Linked DNA regions of Homo sapiens: region 2 is linked to region 1. The links are contacts of gene promoters, found by promoter capture Hi-C in blood cells and fetal thymus (Javierre and others, 2016). All regions are on one chromosome and are shown on one strand. Each heading gives the region's core, a stretch centred on a gene start or on the middle of the fragment in contact. The rest is flanking DNA. Distances are from core to core; before and after follow the strand shown. Region 1 holds the start of SLC20A1 (solute carrier family 20 member 1). Region 2 overlaps BUB1 (BUB1 mitotic checkpoint serine/threonine kinase).

What was found. Contacts are between HindIII fragments. The CHiCAGO score rates a contact against its expected background, and 5 or more counts as called.
Region 2: a fragment that was not itself captured here is called in contact with the fragment with the promoter of SLC20A1 in region 1 in 1 of 17 cell types (fetal thymus); the score reaches 6.4 in fetal thymus.

Annotation. Positions count from the first base shown.
Region 1 is chr2:112,642,569-112,648,324 of GRCh38, forward strand. It overlaps SLC20A1 (solute carrier family 20 member 1), which reads left to right and starts at 3,371. Exons shown (of 11, transcript NM_005415.5): 1 at 3,371-3,561; 2 at 3,995-4,594; 3 at 4,756-4,896; 4 at 5,085-5,170. The coding sequence starts at 4,261. It overlaps SLC20A1-DT (SLC20A1 divergent transcript), which reads right to left and starts at 1,612. Exons shown (of 5, transcript NR_033871.1): 1 at 1,531-1,612; 2 at 1,391-1,447; 3 at 611-725. RefSeq lists an enhancer at 1-393 and silencers at 3,033-3,862, 4,324-4,618. The HindIII fragment of the contact is 3,268 bases long and covers 2,342-5,609 here.
Region 2 is chr2:110,664,453-110,670,208 of GRCh38, forward strand. It overlaps BUB1 (BUB1 mitotic checkpoint serine/threonine kinase), which reads right to left. Exons shown (of 25, transcript NM_004336.5): 6 at 5,001-5,101; 7 at 3,345-3,397; 8 at 3,069-3,253; 9 at 1,811-1,962. Among named protein-coding and RNA genes, the nearest start is that of SNORD132, 9.1 kb to the left of the region's middle. The HindIII fragment of the contact is 295 bases long and covers 3,149-3,443 here.

The DNA.
Region 1 (5,756 bases), core at 2,121-4,620:
CCCAAAATGCTGGGATTACAAGCTTGAGCCACCATGTCCAGCTACAGGTATTATTATTACCTCATTCATCTGGGGATGGGGAGGGCATTGGTGGGTGGAGAGGAGCTGGTTCTCCTTTACTCCAAGGCTCCTACCTTCTCTTCCCTGGATGTTCTCGCCCCTGCTCCCATGCAAGTCCTCACAGACGGCCTCTGAAGCCGCCTTTGTTCCTGGTCTGGTTCCACAACGTTCCCATGCCCACTTGAGCTCCCTCTACTCCAAGTAGACTATTTCCAGGATGAGTACTTCAAGTACATCGAACAGTGACCTCAAATGCATTTCCTTGACTGTGCCTCTCTGAACTAAAAAGTGCAGAAATGTCATTGCTTCCTTCTTTTGTCTGGTCTTCCACAGGGCTAGGTTGGGATCCGGGGGGAGAGTAGCTTTCCTAGCTCTCAGCAGCTCAACTCCACCGAATTAGTGAACGATGGACATGTCCCCAAGAGGACTCTAAACCCACAGTCCCCAACATGGTGTTCTGCAGCATGCCACAGGTCATCTTGTTCTGTCCTCTCTGAGGGTGAGGTTGGAGAGGGACCCTAGGCTCACAGGCTCAGTGACAGTGACTCACCAAAGATCCTGTGGGCAGTCAGGGTCTGGGCCAGGCCAGTGAGCCCATTCATATGGCATGAGCCACAACACTGTTCCTCTTCCTCCGGCAGCAGCCCGTTTTGCGTGTCCCCTCACTATGAGCCGTGGGAGAAATTTGAAAGGGCTTGGATCAGAGGGCAGGGAGAAGAGGGTGGTCCTGACATCTGACACATACTTCATTTTAAACATGGGCTATGTATGACAGGCCTTCAGCTAGTTATTGAACAAAGAGAATAAGAGCCCTTTTACAAGGGCTTTACATATATTCATTCATTTGGTCCTCACAACAGCACTGTGAGTTAGAAGTCTCAATCTCACCCCTTTACAGATCAGGAAACTGAGGCAGATAATTTATTTGCCTATGGTCACAGGACTAGTGAGTGACAGAGCAGGTGGTTTGGTCTTACAGTCTATGTGTTTAACCACTACACCAAACCACCTCCCTAAGATGCTAGAGGGGGTTTGTGCCAATGCCTGGATTCTAAGAGATTAGATTCTCTTTAGGATCTCTGACCTGTTTCCTCAGCATTCAGAGATAAGGCCAGAAACAATGCCATTTGTGCACGAACTGACAACTGACGGTCCTCCTACCTCCTATTTCTATTTAAAAGGCACTGTAACTTCTTTCCACAGGCAGATCCCTACCTCTCCTCCCTTAGGGGAGGACGAAGGTGTCCCAGCCAAGGAAGATCCTGGTCTCCAAGGGCTGTACCCTACTGATCCGGAGGCAAAGCAGTGAGGGCCCACCCCAATTCCTCACCTCCCATTCTACTCTTCGGCAGAAGCATCTCAGTGTTGGAAAGATAAGGATTTCTTCCTAAAAAGGAAGGATTACACTATATCAGAGTCTGAAGATACAGTTTTCATTTGCAACGCAAGGGAATTCCTTTGAATCTCTACCTTATGATTTCCCTGCAAACCCACTCCGATGGGGCTGGAGAGTGCTCTCTCACTCAGATGAATCTCTCAGGGGTTGTCCAGCAGGTGTTTGCCAACTTGAAGAGCTACCTACTATCACAGACCTATAAAAGTACGCCTGTGGACAGACTGAAAACAAACAAACAAAACACACACACAAACACACAAAACAACCGCACACTGGGAGAAGTTCTAGGCAATTTCCTTGCAAATAACTGCTTTGAAAATTACTGTTTTAAATTGGCAGAACACTAAGGACTTTGAACAGATCATCCCTTTTACTCAATGTTTTCATAACCTTGAAGTGAAGGTGGAGGGAGCAGTACGTTTTAAGGTGCCAGGATTACACTACGGGGTCAGTGCTCCCGGATATGAACTTTCTTTTTCAGACCGACCTTGGGACCTACAGCTTTGTAAGTTACTCATACAACTCCATCAAATGTTACAGGTAGGTCAGAGGACATTCAGGTTGTTTAAGCCTCTATAAATGACTCAGGCAGCAACAATTTACAACGTCTTTGTTTCTGCTATGCAGTGCCCTCCTGCTAGAGATGGCAAAAATGTGGGGAGGGCTTCAGAGCATTCTAAGCCTGGTATTTCTGGCTGGAATTTTTAAATCTCACTACAATCCTGACAAGAGACCACGACCTTAATCTCCCACGGCATGACTGGTTAGTCTTGATCGTAAGCCATATAATCAACACCCAAATGTGCATAACACATCTAAATAATGTCAAAACTACACTATATACCACGCAGGGGACCAGAAATCAATCTTTACCTCAAAAGGATAAGCTTCCAGGATGCAATAACATCCCCTTCCACCCTTTTCTACACCCTAAAACAGTAATATTCACGGTAACAGCAAAGCGGAAATCAGCTTTTCCTGAACATGTACTGAATTCTAGTCACATTCACACACGTTAATTCATTTAATTCCAGCCACAAGGTAGGCAGCCTCTGTTAACATTTTACAATTGTGAGAACGCAGAGATCTGGGACTGGCTCAAGGTGACACACTGCAGCAAGGAGTCAGAATTTGAATCCGAAGCAGTGTCCTTCCCCCTCGCAACAGCTGCGGCGTTACAAACACAGGTCAGCCACGGAGAAATTAATGACCCACAGCCATCCTTGCAGCTCTGCGCCATAACTGGGGAGACAAGCTGGTTCCCGTGACTCTTCAGTCTGTTTTCACCCAAGTGCATGACTGCGGGAGCAAAGCGACCACGTGAGCATCCCCCCCCCACCCCCCCGCTTCCCCCAGGCGAGGGACAGTGCCAGGCCAAGGACAAGTCACAGGTGCAACAACGTGCCAGAACTGGATCCGGAGCCCCAGGGCGCAAGATCTCCCGCAGCGTCACCCGGCAGAGGGACGGGTGTGGCCACCGGGCGCGGCAGGTCCTGCGTGCGCTGAAAGTGCGGCTGGAGGCGCGGACGGCTTTCCGGAGCCCCGAGAGAGGAGCTAGGAATGACTTTGGTCGCAGCCTCTGTAACCCCGCATGACGGCCTCTAGGGGGACAGCGAGGTCCCCCTCGATCTCTGGCTGTAATCAGCCGGCGGGGCCAGACGGTGCCGAGACTCCAGGGCGAGGCCGCAGGGAGGGGGCTGTCCCGCCCCACGTGGACCGGCTCCCCGCTGGGGGCGTGGCCGCCGAAGCGGGCCGGGCCAATGAGCGCCACCGTCGGGCTCACCCGGCTGGGCACGCCGGGCCGAGGAGGGCTGCGTCATGCCGGGGGCGGGGCTTCGGGGCCGGCGCGAGGCGCGGCGGGGTCACGCGGGTCGCTGCGCGGGCTATAAGTAGGGGCCGGCGGGGTGCTCCGCTGGAGTGATGGCTGCCGGCGCTCTCTGCGTGGTTCTTCTTCTCGGCCGCTGAAACCCCCGCGGCTGCTTCCTGGGAAGGTCGTGAGTCCCGCTGAGCTGTCCCCGGTGCCGCCGACCCGGGCCGTGTGCCCGTGGCTCCAGCCGCTGTCGCCTCGATCTCCTCGTCTCCCGCTCCGCCCTCCCTTTTCCCTGGTGAGTAGTGGCGCCGCCTCGTAAAGGCTCTTTCTTCTCCCCGGGGCCGGGCGCGGACGCCGTGGCGCTGGAGGCGGACGCCGTGGGCGGCGCGGCTGGCTTCTCTCTTCGCCGCTGGCCGCCTCCACTCCGCCCGTCTGCCCGCCCGCGGGCCTTTTTGGCGGTCCCCGGGCGGCGCGCGCGGGAACGGCCCTTTTCCGATTTTCGCGCGGAGGGCGCGCGCGGGCTGGCAGCGCAGGGGCTGGGCTGGGCGCGCGCGGGCCGCGGAGGACCCGGAGCCACGTGCCTCTCCTTCTCGCGCGTCCTACTGGGGATGGGGGTCTGGAGTAGCCGGCAGAGGCTATTGCGGGACCCCGGGCGCGTGGGTAGAGCGGGGTGCCCCACTGGCCCCCCAGGGGCACGCAGCTATTGTTATTTCCCCCCTCCCCCGCAGGATGAACTTGCGTCCTTTCTCTTCTCCGCCATGGAATTCTGCTCCGTGCTTTTAGCCCTCCTGAGCCAAAGAAACCCCAGACAACAGATGCCCATACGCAGCGTATAGCAGTAACTCCCCAGCTCGGTTTCTGTGCCGTAGTTTACAGTATTTAATTTTATATAATATATATTATTTATTATAGCATTTTTGATACCTCATATTCTGTTTACACATCTTGAAAGGCGCTCAGTAGTTCTCTTACTAAACAACCACTACTCCAGAGAATGGCAACGCTGATTACCAGTACTACAGCTGCTACCGCCGCTTCTGGTCCTTTGGTGGACTACCTATGGATGCTCATCCTGGGCTTCATTATTGCATTTGTCTTGGCATTCTCCGTGGGAGCCAATGATGTAGCAAATTCTTTTGGTACAGCTGTGGGCTCAGGTGTAGTGACCCTGAAGCAAGCCTGCATCCTAGCTAGCATCTTTGAAACAGTGGGCTCTGTCTTACTGGGGGCCAAAGTGAGCGAAACCATCCGGAAGGGCTTGATTGACGTGGAGATGTACAACTCGACTCAAGGGCTGCTGATGGCCGGCTCAGTCAGTGCTATGTTTGGTAAGTTCTTTTTATGTTTTGTCCTCTTCGTGGTGGGTGAGCAAATTTGTATCATGGGTGGTTCCATTTTTGTGCATAACCTTTCCGATTAACCTTTCTGAATGTGCCACTTACATAATGGAATTTTGATATTTACTTAATAAAACTTTACTATGTTTCAGGTTCTGCTGTGTGGCAACTCGTGGCTTCGTTTTTGAAGCTCCCTATTTCTGGAACCCATTGTATTGTTGGTGCAACTATTGGTTTCTCCCTCGTGGCAAAGGGGCAGGAGGGTGTCAAGTGGTCTGAACTGATAAAAATTGGTATGTTTAATTCCAAACGGCTTCTTAATTTTCGTTTTCGTCATATGTTACCATGGCATTAGGTATGGGAGGATGTGTTCTAACGTCGAGGGACAGACCCAAGAATTTTGAACTCTTAAACATTTAAAGTGGTTTTTGGTTTCTGATTTTCATTATTTGATATTTTTTCTTAATGTGTTCTATTCCAGTGATGTCTTGGTTCGTGTCCCCACTGCTTTCTGGAATTATGTCTGGAATTTTATTCTTCCTGGTTCGTGCATTCATCCTCCATAAGGTAACCTTTCTCCCCCGTATGAAGACCTTTCATGGAGCACACCCAATCGATTTCAAACCCAGTGGTACTTTTGCAGATGTGATTGGTGTATAGGTATGCGGCCTTGGAAAATTTTAAAAAGCTCTTTGTTCTGTGCATTTCTTGTATGTTGTGGAGTTCTCTGAAAGCGAGTTTTTAATACTCAAGAGGGCAGTCAGGAAGGAAAAATTGAATACTATGATGTGCCAAGAAGTAGGAGAAACTGGGAGCAAAAAAATAAGGAAATTTATTTTGCGTGGTTTTGTGTAGCTGTATACACATTATTTGTTTAAACCACTGTTATATTCAGGCTAATATAATACGTAAACTTGGAGTTCAAGACAGTGTCCCCTGTGGCTTTTTTAACTAAGCTGCCAGTTAAATGGGTCTCTGCCGTGCTGATTATCATAACCAGTTTATAAGCTTCTAGATGAGGACTCTGCCTCCCATAGTGACTTGACTCCAATTTCTCAGAATAGTTGAAAAGAACCAGTTAAAGGTAGTTTTTGGCCCGCCCCCCAAAAAAACTTCAGGCAGCCATTTAATTTCCTGTCCATTTGAAAATCCC
Region 2 (5,756 bases), core at 2,046-4,545, 2.0 Mb before region 1:
TAAGTTCCCTCCTAGAACATTGTGCCCAACCAAATTATCAACCAAATGTGACGGTAAAATAAAGATGCTTTTAGACATGCAAGAGACCTCAAAAACTAACCCCTCAAACATGCTGCTGTTGCCTTTTTTTTTTTTTTTTTTAAATAAGCTACTGGAGAAAGTGTGCCTTCGAAATGAGGACAGTAAGGAGAGATAACGACATGGGAACCAGGGATATACCACAGGAAAGGAGCCAGGGAGAACAATTTATTAACAATTTCTTGCAACTATCCAGGGAAAATATAAATTATACAAAAAGAAATCCAAACAAATCAGAAAAAAAATGAAATGACTCAATAGAAAAATGGACAAAGCCATTCAGTCAATTTAAAGGAAAGAAGTTAAACAGCCACGAAATGTATCCAAAAAATGTCCAAATCTACCTATAATTAAAGAAACTACATCAGGTGCTTGAAAAGATTTAGTATAGTTAATGTTAGCCAAATGTGTACAAGAAACAAGTCCTTTTACACACTGTTAATGTGAGTGCACAGTCCGAAGTTTATAGAGGGCAGACTGACAGCATTTTAGGTACATACACTTGAAAGGTAGCATGATTTCTAACAGTTTCTACATGATACACTCCCTTTTATAAGGTATGACAGAAGACTATGCTGCAAGTAGAATTAGTTAGATATCTATGCAATAGCAGTGAAAGATCTATCAGAGGTGTTAGGTAGAAAAAGCAGAAAATAAGTCTTATTTATGTAGAACGTTCTATTGTATTCATATTTATGTGTTTTCATACACAATAAGTCTGGAAAAATACAAACTATAGCAGTTAGCAATAAAGGAGAACATTCAGACCAGACGTGGTGGCTCACACCTGTAATCACAACACTTTGGGAGGCTGAGGCAAGAGGATCGCTTGAGCCCAGGAGTTTGACACCAGGCTGGGCAACATGGCGAGACCCCATCTCTATAAAAATAAAATAAAAAATTAGGTGGGTGTGGTGGCACATGCCTGTGGTTGCAGCTACTAAGGAGGATACAATGAACAGTTATCATACCACTGCACTCTAGCATGGGTGACAGAGCAAGACCCCGTCTAAAAATTAAAAAAAAAAGAAAAAGAATGTTTGTGTGTGTGTGTGTGTGTGTGTGTGTGTGTGTATGCATACATACATACATATATACAAATGAATGCTCTCCTTCATATATACATATATACACACCTTTCATGTGATATTTTAAAAAACCATCTAGTCACATATTTTTATACTTTCCAAATATGTAAGAAAATAAAGTATTTTATCTTCATCGTATCCTATGTCATAGACAAACATATAATATGAAAGATTAAGCAACCATTATACAGTTTAAATGAGTTTATTTCCAATCTCCTTCATTCACTACTAATTTTAAGAAAATATATGTGGCTCTAACACACTCATCACTTCTCTGCTTTTCCAAGATGAAATAATGGCAAACAAAAAATATATCTAAATGATAAATTATTGAGAGTACTATACTCCAATTTTCATTACACAATAGTCACTGTACAAAAACCAGAAAAAGGTCTATATATAAATACATGAATATATAGACATGTACACATACACAAACATGTAAAACATACTACCATTCTGTTTTGTAACTTTCCACTCTCACTCTACATTGTGAACGTCTATGTCAAATTATTTTAGACTTTCAGAAAGTTACTAGCTAAATTAACATCAGAATTAACTCTAAAACAGCACATAGAAAGGAACAAATCAAACTGCCATTCCTGCTGCTGGGCACAGGATGTGTCATGAGGAGCACAACATACCTCGGACCTTTCCTGGGAAGCGGGCAGATCCTCATGGGATGTCTCCACCACCTGATGCAACTTCTTATGAAGTTCATCCATTTTCTGTTTTAATAGCTGTTCTTCAAAAGCATTTGCTTCTTTCCTTTTCATATAATGTCTGTCTTCATTTACTTTAGGAAAGATAGAAATGGTTTGCATGCAAAATTTAAATCCAGGTCATCATAGGAATACATGCAAAATGAGGAAAGGGTTATATTTTAGGGGGCCGATTTTTTTATTAGTCTTTCTCATATTTGGTTTTAGAAGTGAAACTTGTATTACCTTTTAATTTTTACCTGCCCACAGCTTGGCTACTACATGTTTAGGACATGTAAATTACTAAAAAAAAAAAAAAACTACATGCTGATCAAAAATAATAATAATAGCACAGTATAATAGTAAAGATTTTTGTAGCCATCATATACATGACTGTTCTTGTAAACAATCATGATTGTGCAAATCATTTTAAAATAAATTTTTATTTGTTTTTATAAGATAAAAATTTCTAGAGACTTTCTAAGTAGAAGTGAACTGCACTAAATGATCAGGGCTTCAAGCATGCTGTGGTCAGTCCCATTTCCAACAACTGGTTAACAGAGTCATGCCACAGGCAAGTCAAAGAGTCTGGCTTAAAACTTCTGGTCACAGCATGTGAAAGAAAAACACATCTATGCCCAGCACAAAATGAGTCCTCTGTGTTAACTGACTTGTCTTCTCTGTTGTCAACCGAGTATGAAAAGTAATGAACAGAAAAGAAAGGCCCAGAATGGCTATAGCCCAAATAACTTAGATAGTATAAAAGTCCTGAGTGGAATAAAGGTTCAAATAACTGACCTAGAGGTTTAGAATTACTATATACAGATAATACTGAAAAATTTTTAAATATTTATTTCACTAAAGCTAAGATGACACTGGTATGGATATCTAATTTAGTACTCTTTCAACTATGAGTTTGCTGCCAAGACATCAATTTAGTCCTTGGACTAACTTGGCTGCTACACTAGTGGTTAAGCAATTTCCAATTCAGAAAAAAAAAGTGCAGCTTGCTGCCAGCGCAGTTTTCTCGGGGCAAACGCAAAATGGGTTAATAATGATTTCTGGGCTTCTGATAGGATGAGATGAAGACTTTCTTGCAGTCTTTCAACATAGTCAATTATTCTTTAAAAAAGTAATTACTCAGAGATGAGGATTTTTTTATGTGACATAAGAATAACTAAAAATACAAGATTGCAAGTACCCCATTGCTCATGCTTTCTCCGTTGATTGTATTTCTGGGCTCTCAATTCTTCAAAGGAAAATTCTGATTCCCCACGAATAAGCTTCTCCTTGCAATACATAACAACCTGCTCAACATCAACTTTGGATGCCAAAGATGAGTGCACAGAATATTCTGATTTAGAAATCGTGATCACTCTTCGTTCCCTACAATGGGGGAAAATACATTATTTACAACAATGTACCTAAGAGCACTTAAAGGAAACTAATAATAGATTAATGCACTGATTATACTTGCATATTTGACTCTTTATCACAAGCTGAAGATATCACTCCAGAAAGCTCTGAACCCTAAAAAACAGAAAACAAACATGAGCATTCACTTATCTGAGAAGAAAGCTTCACCCAAATTACTTCACAAAACAATATGAAAATGCTTGAGGGGAAGAGGGACCTTAATCCCAAGTAGATTTATGTAATTTTAAATTATGATTAATATCAAAAGATTGTTTGTATCAACAACCTTACAATAACTATTGTAACTTAATCTAATCAAAGAAAGAGGTTTTTTTGGTTGTTGTTTTGTTTTTAATAAAGTCCTACTCAGCAGTAGAGAAGAACCATAGCTGATTTCCCTTCAATTCATAGTCTAGTAGCTAGAGTATAGTGTCTGAACATTATGGGATTGACATTCCCAACTGCTGCTAATTTTTTTTTTAATTAAAATTTTCCTCAGGTACTACTCTGCCCTCAAGAGTTCTCAAATTCCTTCACTAAACAAATATTTGCCAGACACCTCCATGTCACACTCTGAGCTAGGTCTGGGAAATGTGACTGCAATCAAGACCCATCTCTACTGTCTGGAGCTTAGACAGGACAATAGGTGGTCAGGAGGGTGGCAAGCATGTGTAGGACGTAAAATGTAAATTGGGACAAGCTGCACTACCTGTCAAAGTCAGGAGCGCATATTCTACTTCTAAGAATGTATTACATTAATGAAACCTGTACATACACCCTAAGCACACAGGCGTTTCCATTGGCTTTTGCTTCAAGGAGGTCCTTGATGAACTTTGAAAGAAAGTTGTACTGTGGAGGGTAACATGGGAAACATAGTTGGGAAACATGAGGCTGAGGGAAGAAGAGAGACTTGAGCATTTTCCCATGTTGATACACCATGGAGGCAGAAGAGATCTCCACAGGGCAAAAACCTTGATGAGGATAAGGACAAGCACAGATAGAAGGCCACCTTTTCTCACAGGGAAGGATGCAGTTACATTTATTGGTTGGTGGCAGAAAACTGATAGATGTCACTTGATGGCATCTGCTATCTGTTGAAATAGTATTTTTGAAGTTCCTGAGAGAGAGGCTAGAGGTAGCGAGGTCCCAAGTTTGAAGAGACTGAAAAGAAGTCTAAAATCACTATAGTTTGGCGCTAGAGTGAACCTGGAAACATAAGAGATACACAAAACATAAAGAGTGAATCAGACACTGGAAGCATGTCCCATTGCCTGGGAGTATGACCCATTGCCTGGGAGTATGAGACCTCCCTGTTACTTGAGGTAACAGGCAGCAATCTTTGAGGCTCTGAGTTTTGAAAGCCAGGCTCAGAAGCCCCCAGGTGGATCCATTCCCAGTAGGGATTTCCAGAGCCTATGCAGAGGCCAGCAGAACAGAGGAAAGGACATTGGTAAGGGAAAAGCTGGTGGGGAGAGTAAAGACAGGAGGCCGTGTGGTGAGGGCCTCTGGGTTAGACAACAAATTGTATTTGAGGTGAGCTGTGTGGGAGAATAACAGGCCCAGGAAGTTGCCACAGGAGCAGGTGGCTGACATGGAGCTCAGAGCCATGAAGAGAAAGATCAAAGAAATGAGATGTCAAAGTGGATGTAGAAGGCAGCCAGGCTGGCCATTCAATACCATTCCCAGTTTCCACACAAGCTACAAATGTCATTATTACCTGATTCTTAGAAATGCAGGCCATGTTATTTCCTGGATTTGATTTTGATGTTATCATTTGATTTAAAACCTGAACATTATGCAGAGGTTCTGAGGTTCTAGCTATGAGGGAAAAGAGGATAAAATACGGAGAAATTAAGGGTAAAACCGTAAGTAAAATTATCACATAATAAATTCCCCTGATCCTTCCAGTAGGAATCATAAGAAGTAAATCAACTCATTCACACTGTCTCAGAAATTTCAACTAAAACGTTTTTAAAATAAGTATTATACAATTTTCTGATCAACTCAACATGCCAGGAAGTACCCAAAAGAAATGTAAAACCTAACTAATAATTTTAAACAACCAGATAGGATAGGCAATGCTTATTGCTGAAATGTGATACTTAGTTCTAAGAAAAAGAAATGGCTGTATTTCTTTAAAAGTTGCATTAAACACATTTGATTCCATTCAAAATAGATGGAGTCCAGATTAAGTATTTTGGTCAATTTTGAATTAAAAAAAAATCCTACAAATACAGTGAAATTATCAATTTTTTTTTTGCAGGTTTGAGCTTTTAAAATGCTAAGACAAAGCCTCTGCTCTTTGGGGCTATTTAGTGGGCATTATGATGATCAGAATGCTTTCTCTGTTACCTGAGAGTGCAATTTGGTTTTCATTAAAAATTGGATGGGTTTTTTTTTTTTTTTTTTTTTTTTTTTGTGGAGACGGAGTCTCACTCTGTCGCCCGGGCTGGAATGAAGTGGCATGATTTCA